Linked DNA regions of Homo sapiens: all the other regions are linked to region 1. The links are contacts of gene promoters, found by promoter capture Hi-C in blood cells and fetal thymus (Javierre and others, 2016). All regions are on one chromosome and are shown on one strand. Each heading gives the region's core, a stretch centred on a gene start or on the middle of the fragment in contact. The rest is flanking DNA. Distances are from core to core; before and after follow the strand shown. Region 1 holds the start of AACS (acetoacetyl-CoA synthetase). Region 2 holds the start of TRA-TGC3-2 (tRNA-Ala (anticodon TGC) 3-2). Region 3 overlaps LOC105370050 (a long non-coding RNA gene).

Region 1 (3,045 bases), core at 91-2,590:
GACCATGAGTTAAAAATCCCCTAGGAGGCCAGGCGCCGTGGCTCACACCTGTAATCCCAGCACTTTGGGAGGCCAAGGCGATCGGATCACCTGAGGTCAGGAGTTCGAGACCAGCCTGACCAACATGGAGAAACTCCGTCTCTACTAAAAATACAAAATTAGCCAGGCGTGGTGGTGTATGCCTGTAATCCCAGCTACTCGGGAGGCTGAGGCAGGAGAATCACTTGAACCCGGGAGGCGGAGGTTGCAGTGTGCCGAGATCTCGCCATTGCACTCCAGCCTGGGCAACGAGAGAGAAACTGTCTCAAAAAAAAAAAAAAAAAATCCCCTAGGAATACCTAGGGGAGGCAGGGTGGAGGGGTGGAGCTGGTAGTTGGGCAAGCCAGCTAGAGCTCAGGAAGAGCACCCGGAGCGGTTACCCCACGGAGAAGGAGCCTTTGCCCCACCCGCACCGAGAGAGGCAGTTTCTGAGGTTCAAGGTGATGGGTGGAAAGAGAGTCTTTTACTAGGTTCTGTTTGGGGGCTGGGAGTGTAGACACGTGGACAGGGCCTCCTGCCTGACCATCCTGCTAGGTGCTGGCCTCCAGCAGGGGCAGCTGGAGATGAGGGAGGTCAGGGGGACAGAGTGCACGGCACTGGGGACTGGCAAGGGACCCCCACAAACAGAGGAAGAGCTGCAAGTCAAAAAGGCCCTATGTCCGGGGGAAGCCCCCACAGGCCGGAGGTCAAGACTCCAGGGAGCACCTCACAGGTAGGAAAGCCTAGCAAGGGGTCACACGGTCAACAGGCAGCTGGCCCTCCCGAGGGGTGACACTCCCGGGGAGAGGGTGACCCCCACATGCAGAGGAGACGCTGCAGAGTCAGGAAGTGCCAGGAGGTGCTGTGGAGGGGTGATGTTCCCCAAGACTGGGGGGAACCCCGCAGTCAGAAGGCCTCCCCGCCATCAAGTGGCTCCTCCAGCCCCAGAAGCGTGAAACTAGCCATGGGGAGACCACCCAACCACCCTGCACGGCTCCCGCCCATCCCCCGCAGGCCCGGCCGCGCGCCCGACTCTCACCCAGCGCCAGGCCGCAGGCGGCGCCCACAGCCGCCCGGAAGCGGTCCATCTGCGTGTTCTTCTTACTGTCAGGCTCCCACATCACCTGGCACTCCAGGATCTCCTCCCGACCGGGGCGCTCCTCCTTGGACATGGCGGCGGCGGGCGGCCGGGGCTGCGACGAGGGCTGGGGACCAGGGGCCGGGGCTGAGGCGAGGGCCGGGGACCTGGGACCGGAGGAAGCGACGGTCAGGAGCGCCTGGCGGGCTGGGTCAGCGACGGCGGCGGCGGGGAACAAGGGACTGAACGGCCGCCGCCGCCTCCTGCGGGCCGCTTGGCCCAGGCCCCGCCCCGCAGGCCCCGCCTCGAATCCCCGCCCCCTTCCAGGCCCCGCCCTCCCGCCTGTAACCCTCCGCTGAGTGCAGCGCCGCTCAAAGGAGTGCTCGCAGCCGCCGGCTCCAGCGCCCGCGGCCGGGGGGCGTGGGGGTGAGGGGCGCTCACGAGCCTTGGCCCCAGCTCCCCGACCTCACCTGGAGCTGGAGGGCGTTAGGGCAGCCGGAGAAGCCAGGCGTCCGAGCCCGCTGTTTCCTACACGTGTACATCATTCATTCGCTATTTCTTCCTGCAGGTCTTTACTGAGAGCCTGCGGCATTCGGAGGACTTTGGGAGCTTTGCGGATACAGCAGCGAACAAAACAAAATTCTTGTTCTCTGTCAACAGGAGAGGAGGGGTACAGGTGTGAGGAAGACGGGAGACGATTAACAAATAAGTACATCGTGTACATACACAAGATAATGTCATAGTATAATACAATAATATACATAGTATGCCAATGGGTATCAAAATACACATTTGTGAAAGGAAAATAAATCTTGGGGCCCCACTACTAAGCTAAAGGGAAAAGAAAAGCTGGGAACTGCTTAGGGCTAACCTGCCTCCATTCTATTCAAAGTCACCCCTCTGCTGAGTTAAATGCACACCTGATTGCCTCCTTTGCAGAGGCTAATTGAAAACTCAAAAGAATGCAGCCATTTGTCCCTTATCTACCTATGACCTGGAAGGCCCCCTCCCCGCCTTAGCTTTTTTTTTTTTTTTGAGTCTCACTCAGTCGCCCAGGCTGGAGTGCAATGTCCCAATCTCAGCTCACTGTAACCTCTGCTTCCCAGGTTCAAGCGATTCTCCTGCCTCAGCCTCCTGAGTAGCTGGGATTACAGGCACACGCCATCATGCCCAGCTAATTTTTCGTGTTTTTTTTTTTGTTGTTGTTGTTGTTTGTTTTGTTTTTTTGAGACGAAGTTTCGCTCTTGTTACCCAGGCTGGAGTGCAATTGCGAGATCTCGGCACACGGCAACCTCCATCTCCCAGGTTAAAGCAATTCTCCTGCCTCAGCCTCTCGAGTACCTGGGATTACAGGCATGTGCCACCACGCCTGGCTAATTTTGTATTTTTAGTACAGACAGGGTTTTTCCATGTTGGTCAGGCTGGTCTCCAACTCCCGGCCTCAGGTGATCCGCCCGCCTCAGCCTCCCAAAGTGCTGGAATTACAGGCGTGAGCTACCGAGCCCGGCTCATTTTTGCATTTTTGTAGAGACGGGATTTCACCATGTTGGCCAGGCTGGTCTTGAAGTCCTGACCTCAGGTGATCCACCCGCCTCGGCCTCCCAAAGTGCTGGGATTACAAGAGTGAGCCCAGGTCTGAGAGCACCCCCTCCAGAGCCTCCCTGATCTCCCAAAATTTGGTGGAGATCTAAAGTTTATTTTGCTGTACAACTCTTTTCTTTGCAGTTTTACTTGCTTCCAACAAGGAAGGCAAGGTTTCCTGCTTCCATGACAATGGAAGGCAGGTAACTCCTTTATGGAGTTTGAGCTCGCTTCCAACAGGGAAGATGAGGTCTTTTTTCCTGCTTCTAGAATGGTAGAGAGCAGTCTACAGCCTAAGACCCATCCCTAGGTAAGTAACTGAATTGGGGTTTGTCTTGGCTAAAGTTAAGGTTAACAGCCAGCTGGTC
Region 2 (2,987 bases), core at 486-2,985, 140 kb after region 1:
AAAACAATTTTTTGTTGTTGTGGTGGTTTTGCTAAACTCTAACACTCACTTAAACACACAAAAGTTTAATTTAGAAAATATCCTTGGCTGGGCGCAGTGGCTCACGCCTGTAATCCCAGCACTTTGGGAGGCCAAGGGGTGCAGATCACCTGAGGTCAGGAGTTCGAGACCAGCCTGGCCAACATGCTGAACCCCCCCCCATCTCTACTAAAAATACAGAAATTAGCAGGCGTGGTGGTGCACGCCTGTAGTCCCAGCTACTCGGGAGGCTGAGGCAGGAGAATCGCTTGAACCCAGGAGGCGGAGGTTGCAGTGAGCCCAGATCATGCCACTGCACTCCAGCCTGGGCGACAGAGCAAAACTCTGTCTCAAAACAAACCAACCAACCAAAAACTAAAAGCCTCTCGCACTCCCGTGTGTATTGCAGCTTTATTCATAAGTGCCTAGATGTGTCCGTCAACAGATACATGGATAGAGAAAATGTGTACATACGCAATAGAATACTATTCGACCTTAAAAAAATACAAAACAAAATGAAATCCTGTCATTTTTCCTCTACGAAACAAAAATAAAAACATGGCTAAGTTTGGGCGACATTACATAAAGTGAAATAAACCGGGCACAGAAAGATAAATACTGCATGATCTCACTCACGTGCGGAAGCTGAAATAGTTGGTCTCACAGAGAGAATAGTGGTTACTGCAGGTAGTGAAGGTGGGGGGAGGTGGGATAGCCAAAGGGGGGTTACTGGATACAAAAGTACAGCTGAATAGGAGGAATAAGTTCCAGTGTCCCTATAGAGTGAATACAACAACTTATTGTACGTTTTCAAATAGCTGGAAGCGTGGATTTTTAATGTCTCCCAGCACAGAGAAATGATACATGTTTGAAGGGATGGATGTGGTCATTGCCCTGATTTGAACATTACAAATTGTGTACATAGATCACAACATCACACCACACCTCATAAATGTGCACAATTGTTATGCGTCCAAACAATAATAAAAACCAAAAATAAAAATGAAACACGTGGAAACAGGAAAAACGCCTTTAAGAATAGAGTATAGCAAGGACTTCCAAAAGCAAGTACAGGAAAGGGAGGGGGATGTAGCTCAGTGGTAGAGCGCATGCTTTGCATGTATGAGGCCCCGGGTTCGATCCCCGGCATCTCCATTGTAGTTTTGTTGCTTTCTGTATTCGTTTTGGTCCGTGGTTCTTTATCATTAAAGTGCCATGGATGTGATTATCATAAGCATTGTGATTCCAGGCACTACTTGGAGCTCAGATTCTCACACCAGGTGTGATCTTCCCATTCTGAAATCTCTAATGTTTCAAATGCACATGAGTTAGAAGAGGCTGATGGGAGTAATCAGCAGAAAAGTGTTAAGGCAAAACCTGACTTGATGACTGAAACCACAGCAAAAGTGAGCAGGATGATCATTTGGGGAGTGTACACCACATCTCGTGCCACCATGATTGTACTGCACTGGCCTCGAGGGCTGTTGACGCATTCTTGGCCATCAGAGGGCAAGTGTGTAAGTTGCTGGAAGGTCTGGGCCCCCCTGTTTGCCATCTCACTCCTCCTCTGCACTGCCACGAACCACCTCATTTGCATGGGAGGAACCCAGAAGCAAACTCACATCCCAGCGGGGCTTTGCTCTCTGCTTCCTCAGCAACACGTCTCCACGGCTGTAATGCAAGTGCAATTTACATTTATATTCATACACTGTGTTCCGGGGTGAGCAGGCCTATGCAAACCTACCCCAAAGGCCAAGGGAGCTGAGAGGCCAAAGAAAGGGGTTGACAAACCCAGTTTCTCAGGAAAAAACATTTATTAGGGACTTACCAACAGAAGCCATAGTCTCAGGGTGGTCATCAGAGGATATAAGGTTTGCTGCGCCATAACCCCCGGCCCAGGGCTTCCATACCATAGGGAAGGAATATATGTAGGACAATTGAAGTTGACCCCTCAAGCAAGGCAAGAATGTTATGTGAATCCGCATAAGGGAAGGATTTATGATCTAGGTTGTTCTGATCTAAGGGCAGAATTTATGGTAACAGTAAAGTAGAAATCTTAGAGACCTTCCTGGAAGAGGCATTAATCGGAAGTTATCTTGGTGGATTAGCAACCAAGATGGAGTTGCTTTCACCTCCACTGTGTTTCTGTGTTTTATCACTGAAAGCAAAAGATGGTGGCTCAGGCCTGTAATCCCAGCACTTTGGGAGGCATGAGGCAGGAGAATTGCTTGAGGCCAGGAGTTTGAAAGCAGCCTGGGCAACAAAGGGAGACCTTGGCTCGGAAAGGAAAGGAAAGGAAAGGAAGGGGAAGGGGAGGGAAAGGGGAAGGGGAGGGGAGGGGAGATTGATTTACTTGCATGAATGATCTTTAGGCAAAAATAAATACATAAAAATAAATTATATTTTTTAAAGTTTAACCAGTTCCCAGCTCTCTAAATAATAATAAGAATGAAAGAAGGGATTCGGCTGCATTCTGTGGTACAGTTCTTTGCAATTATAATGAATTCCTCACCTGTCAGCCCCTTTCTTTCATTTGACTTGACTTCATGTTTTAAATGGTAAAAGCGTCTAATCCTAGATCTAGAGCTTTCATTTTTGAGATGAAGAAAATGAAACTTGCGAACTGACTCACCAGTTAGGTGGTGACGCATTGGTGACAGCTTGTTTCTAATGAGCTTCAGGAAAGGTTATTTCTCCCTAAATGTCAACAAGGTTTTAGGGGAAAATCATTGAAGATAATTTCTGAAGTCATCAGGCCTAACACAAAACTTACATGCTTCTGTAACTGCCCAACAGTTTCTCCTTGCCCGCTGCCTAGACAGAGCCCATTTATTAGGACAGGGAAACTGTGATCCGCCCACCTCAGCCTCCCGAAGTGCTGGGATTACAGGCGCAAGCCACCTCGCCCTGCCATAATAGAGAACGTTTAATTCACACACAGCTGGCAGTGTGGGAGACGGGAGTTTTAC
Region 3 (2,867 bases), core at 172-2,671, 200 kb after region 1:
ACGGAAAGGTTTCTTTCTTTTTGTTTTCTTGAGAGACAGGGTCTCACTGTGTTGCCCAGGCTGGAGTGCAGTGACACAATCACAGCTCACTCACTGCAGCCTCGACTTCCTGGGCTCACGTGATTCTCCCACCTCAGCCTCCTCAGTAGCTGAAACTAGAGGTGTGTGCCACTTTACCTGGCTAACTTTTTATTTTTTGTAGAGATGGTGTCTGGCTGTGTTGCCCAGGCTGATCTCGAACTCCTGGCCTCAAGGGATCCTCCTGCCTCAGCCTCCAAAAGCACTGGGATTATAGGCATGGGCCACCATGCCTGGCCATTTCTTTAAAATAACAGTTTTCATTGAGATATAATTTGCATATCATACATTCACCCATTTAAAGTATATAATTTGGCCAGGCATGATGGCTCACACTTGTAATCCCAGCGCTTTGGGAGGCCAGGGTGGGAGGATGACCAGAATTTTGAGAGCAGCCTGGGCAACAAAGTGAGACCCTGTCTCAACAAAAATGAAAACATCAGGTGTACATAGTGGCATATACTTGTTGTCCAAGCTAGTCAGGAGGCCGAGGCGGGAGGATGGTTTGAACCCAAGACTTCAAGACTGCACTCCAGCCTGGGTGACAGAGTGAGACCCTGTCTCTTGAAAAAAAGAAAAAGTAAATAAAGTGTGTAATTTGATGGTTTTTTGTATATTCACGGAGTTGTGCAACCATCATTACCATCACTTTTACCGTCACTTTTAGAACATTTTCACCACTCCAAGATGAAACCCCAAACCTGTAGCAGTCACTCCTCATTCTCCCCAGCCCCTGGCAACCACTGGTCTACTTTTTGTCCCCATAGATGTGCCTACTATGGACATTTTATATAAGCAGAATCATACATGTGGCCTTTGTGTCTGGCTTCTTTCACTTATCAATGTTTTCAAGGTTCATCCATGGTGTAGCACGCGTCAGCCCTTCATTCCTTTTTATGCTGAGTCATATTCCAGTGCGTGGTTATGCCACATTTTATTTACCTATTCACCAGCTGATGGGGGTGTGGGTTATTTTCACTGCTTGGCTGCTGTGAACATTTGTGTCCAGGCTTCCGTGTGGACATGCTCTTTCCTTTCTCCTGGGCATATACCCAGGAGTGGAACTGCTGGGTCTTAGGGGACCCCTATGTTTACCTTTTGAGGCTGCACCATTTTACAATCCCACAAGCACCTCAAGAGGCTTCCAACTCCTCCAGGTCTTTGCCTGCAGTCATTCTCCGTCTTTGATCACGAAAGGACTCTGAGCAGAGGAGGAAAAGCATCTGACTTGATTTTCCAGGAGCCCTGTGACACCATGTTGATCATATTTTGTTATCAGCACTCTTTCTTTTCTTCTGTATCTTCGACTTTCCCCAGGGCAAGACCTCTCTCTCAAACATGACGAAGTCTTTTTTTCCCTTCTTAAGCTGCCCTCCCTGCCACCGGAAGTGACTCCCCTCAGCAAGGCCAAGGTGGCTCACGTGTCCCATCACCCTTTCATCTCTGCCCTTCTCTCTCGAGTGACAGCATGGCGTGACATGAGGGCTCTCCAGCCATGGCCTTGCAGCCCTCTTGGGTAAGCATCACGTACATTTGGACCTTGAAGACTTGGTCATGAATCAGAGTTAGATTGGGTGAGATGGTCAAGGCAGGTCAGTATCAAGGAAGTGGAGGAGGGTGTCAGGGCCAGGCAGACCGCAGATTTTAGTTAACTGGCTAATTTCCGAGAACTACAAAAGTCATTAAAAAAAAAGGCAACTGCATAGCTGAAGGCTGTTGAAGGCCTTAAGGAATTCAATGAAGTGATATTAATTAATTAATCAATCGATCAGTTACTTGATTAATTAATGAGTTAATTAGCTGATTGAGTAAAGTATTTATTGAGTACCTGCTATGTGCCAGGCATTTTTCCAGGTGCTGGAGATACATCGATAAGCAAAACAGGGTCAGCTTCTGTCTCTCGGGAGCTGGAGGAGATGAACAAGGAAACAGATAAGACCATTTCACACAAAGCAAGGTGGCCTGACAGAGTGGGCTGGGACTCCTGTTTTCAACAGATGCAACAGCAAAGGCTTCTCTGAGGAGTGGGTTTCAGCTGAGCCCAGAAGAGGAGAGTGGGGAGCCATGGAAGGATCTAGGGGAAGCGTATCCTAGACAGAGGAACAGGAAGTGCAAAGTTCCTGACACAAGAAAAAGCTGGGGATGCTCAATGAACTGAAACAATGGGGGAGAGGGCAGGAGATGGAGGCAGAGAGATGGGCAGGCGCCAGTTCATGTGGGTCCGGAAAATAACGACGACACTCCCCAGCTCAGTTGCACTGACACATTCCAGGGACTGTTCTAAGCACTGGCACATTTTTTGACTTGTTTAATCCTCATGGTAGCCCTTGGAAAGGGGCTCTTCTAATCCCCGTTTCGTAGATGAGGAGACTGAGGCACAGAAAGGCCCAAACCACTTGCCCCAGGACTCCAATGTGGGAAACCCCAGAGCCTGGATTTCTCTGAACCTGTCCCCCGGGGCTACCACAGTCTCACCTCAGCCACTCTGACCTCCCTCAGGAGTTGGGCCCTGCCCCTTGGGGCACTGGACCATATTCGGCCTCCTTAGAGGAAGGCAGTGCCAGGCAAAGCTGTCTAACGAGAACATAGCAGGTGCTCTGTAAATATTGGTTCAGGCGAAGACATGTTGCTTAAGGATGGCCCTGCGAGAAGGCTGCTTTCTTCTGGAGTTAAATAAGAGGTTTAGAAAGCCTCCCTCGGAGCACTCAAGGACTGAGCCTGCCTTACCCACGTGCTGGGGACACCACCCTCCTGTCCCTGTGTAACCCAGGAGTCTCTTCTCAGTAACT

The links. Contacts are between HindIII fragments. The CHiCAGO score rates a contact against its expected background, and 5 or more counts as called.
Region 2: a fragment that was not itself captured here is called in contact with the fragment with the promoter of AACS in region 1 in 1 of 17 cell types (neutrophils); the score reaches 5.8 in neutrophils.
Region 3: a contact is called between a fragment that was not itself captured here and the fragment with the promoter of AACS in region 1, in 1 of 17 cell types (neutrophils). The highest score is 5.6, in neutrophils.

What each region holds. Positions count from the first base shown.
Region 1 is chr12:125,063,730-125,066,774 of GRCh38, reverse strand. It overlaps AACS (acetoacetyl-CoA synthetase), which reads right to left and starts at 1,340. Exons shown (of 18, transcript NM_023928.5): 1 at 1,058-1,340. The coding sequence starts at 1,190. It overlaps LOC105370052 (a long non-coding RNA gene), which reads left to right. Exons shown (of 4, transcript XR_001749365.2): 3 at 1,665-1,772. RefSeq lists a silencer at 1,080-1,699. The HindIII fragment of the contact is 11,218 bases long and covers 1-3,045 here.
Region 2 is chr12:124,919,941-124,922,927 of GRCh38, reverse strand. It overlaps TRA-TGC3-2 (tRNA-Ala (anticodon TGC) 3-2), which reads left to right and starts at 1,102; the gene lies at 1,102-1,173. RefSeq lists enhancers at 1,307-1,626, 1,193-1,871, 1,707-1,896 and a cis regulatory region at 1,481-1,651. The HindIII fragment of the contact is 6,001 bases long and covers 1-2,987 here.
Region 3 is chr12:124,865,716-124,868,582 of GRCh38, reverse strand. LOC105370050 (a long non-coding RNA gene) reads right to left here. Exons shown (of 3, transcript XR_945488.3): 2 at 1,907-1,985. Among named protein-coding and RNA genes, the nearest start is that of SCARB1, 3.3 kb to the right of the region's middle. RefSeq lists enhancers at 887-2,086, 2,515-2,684. The HindIII fragment of the contact is 4,035 bases long and covers 1-2,867 here.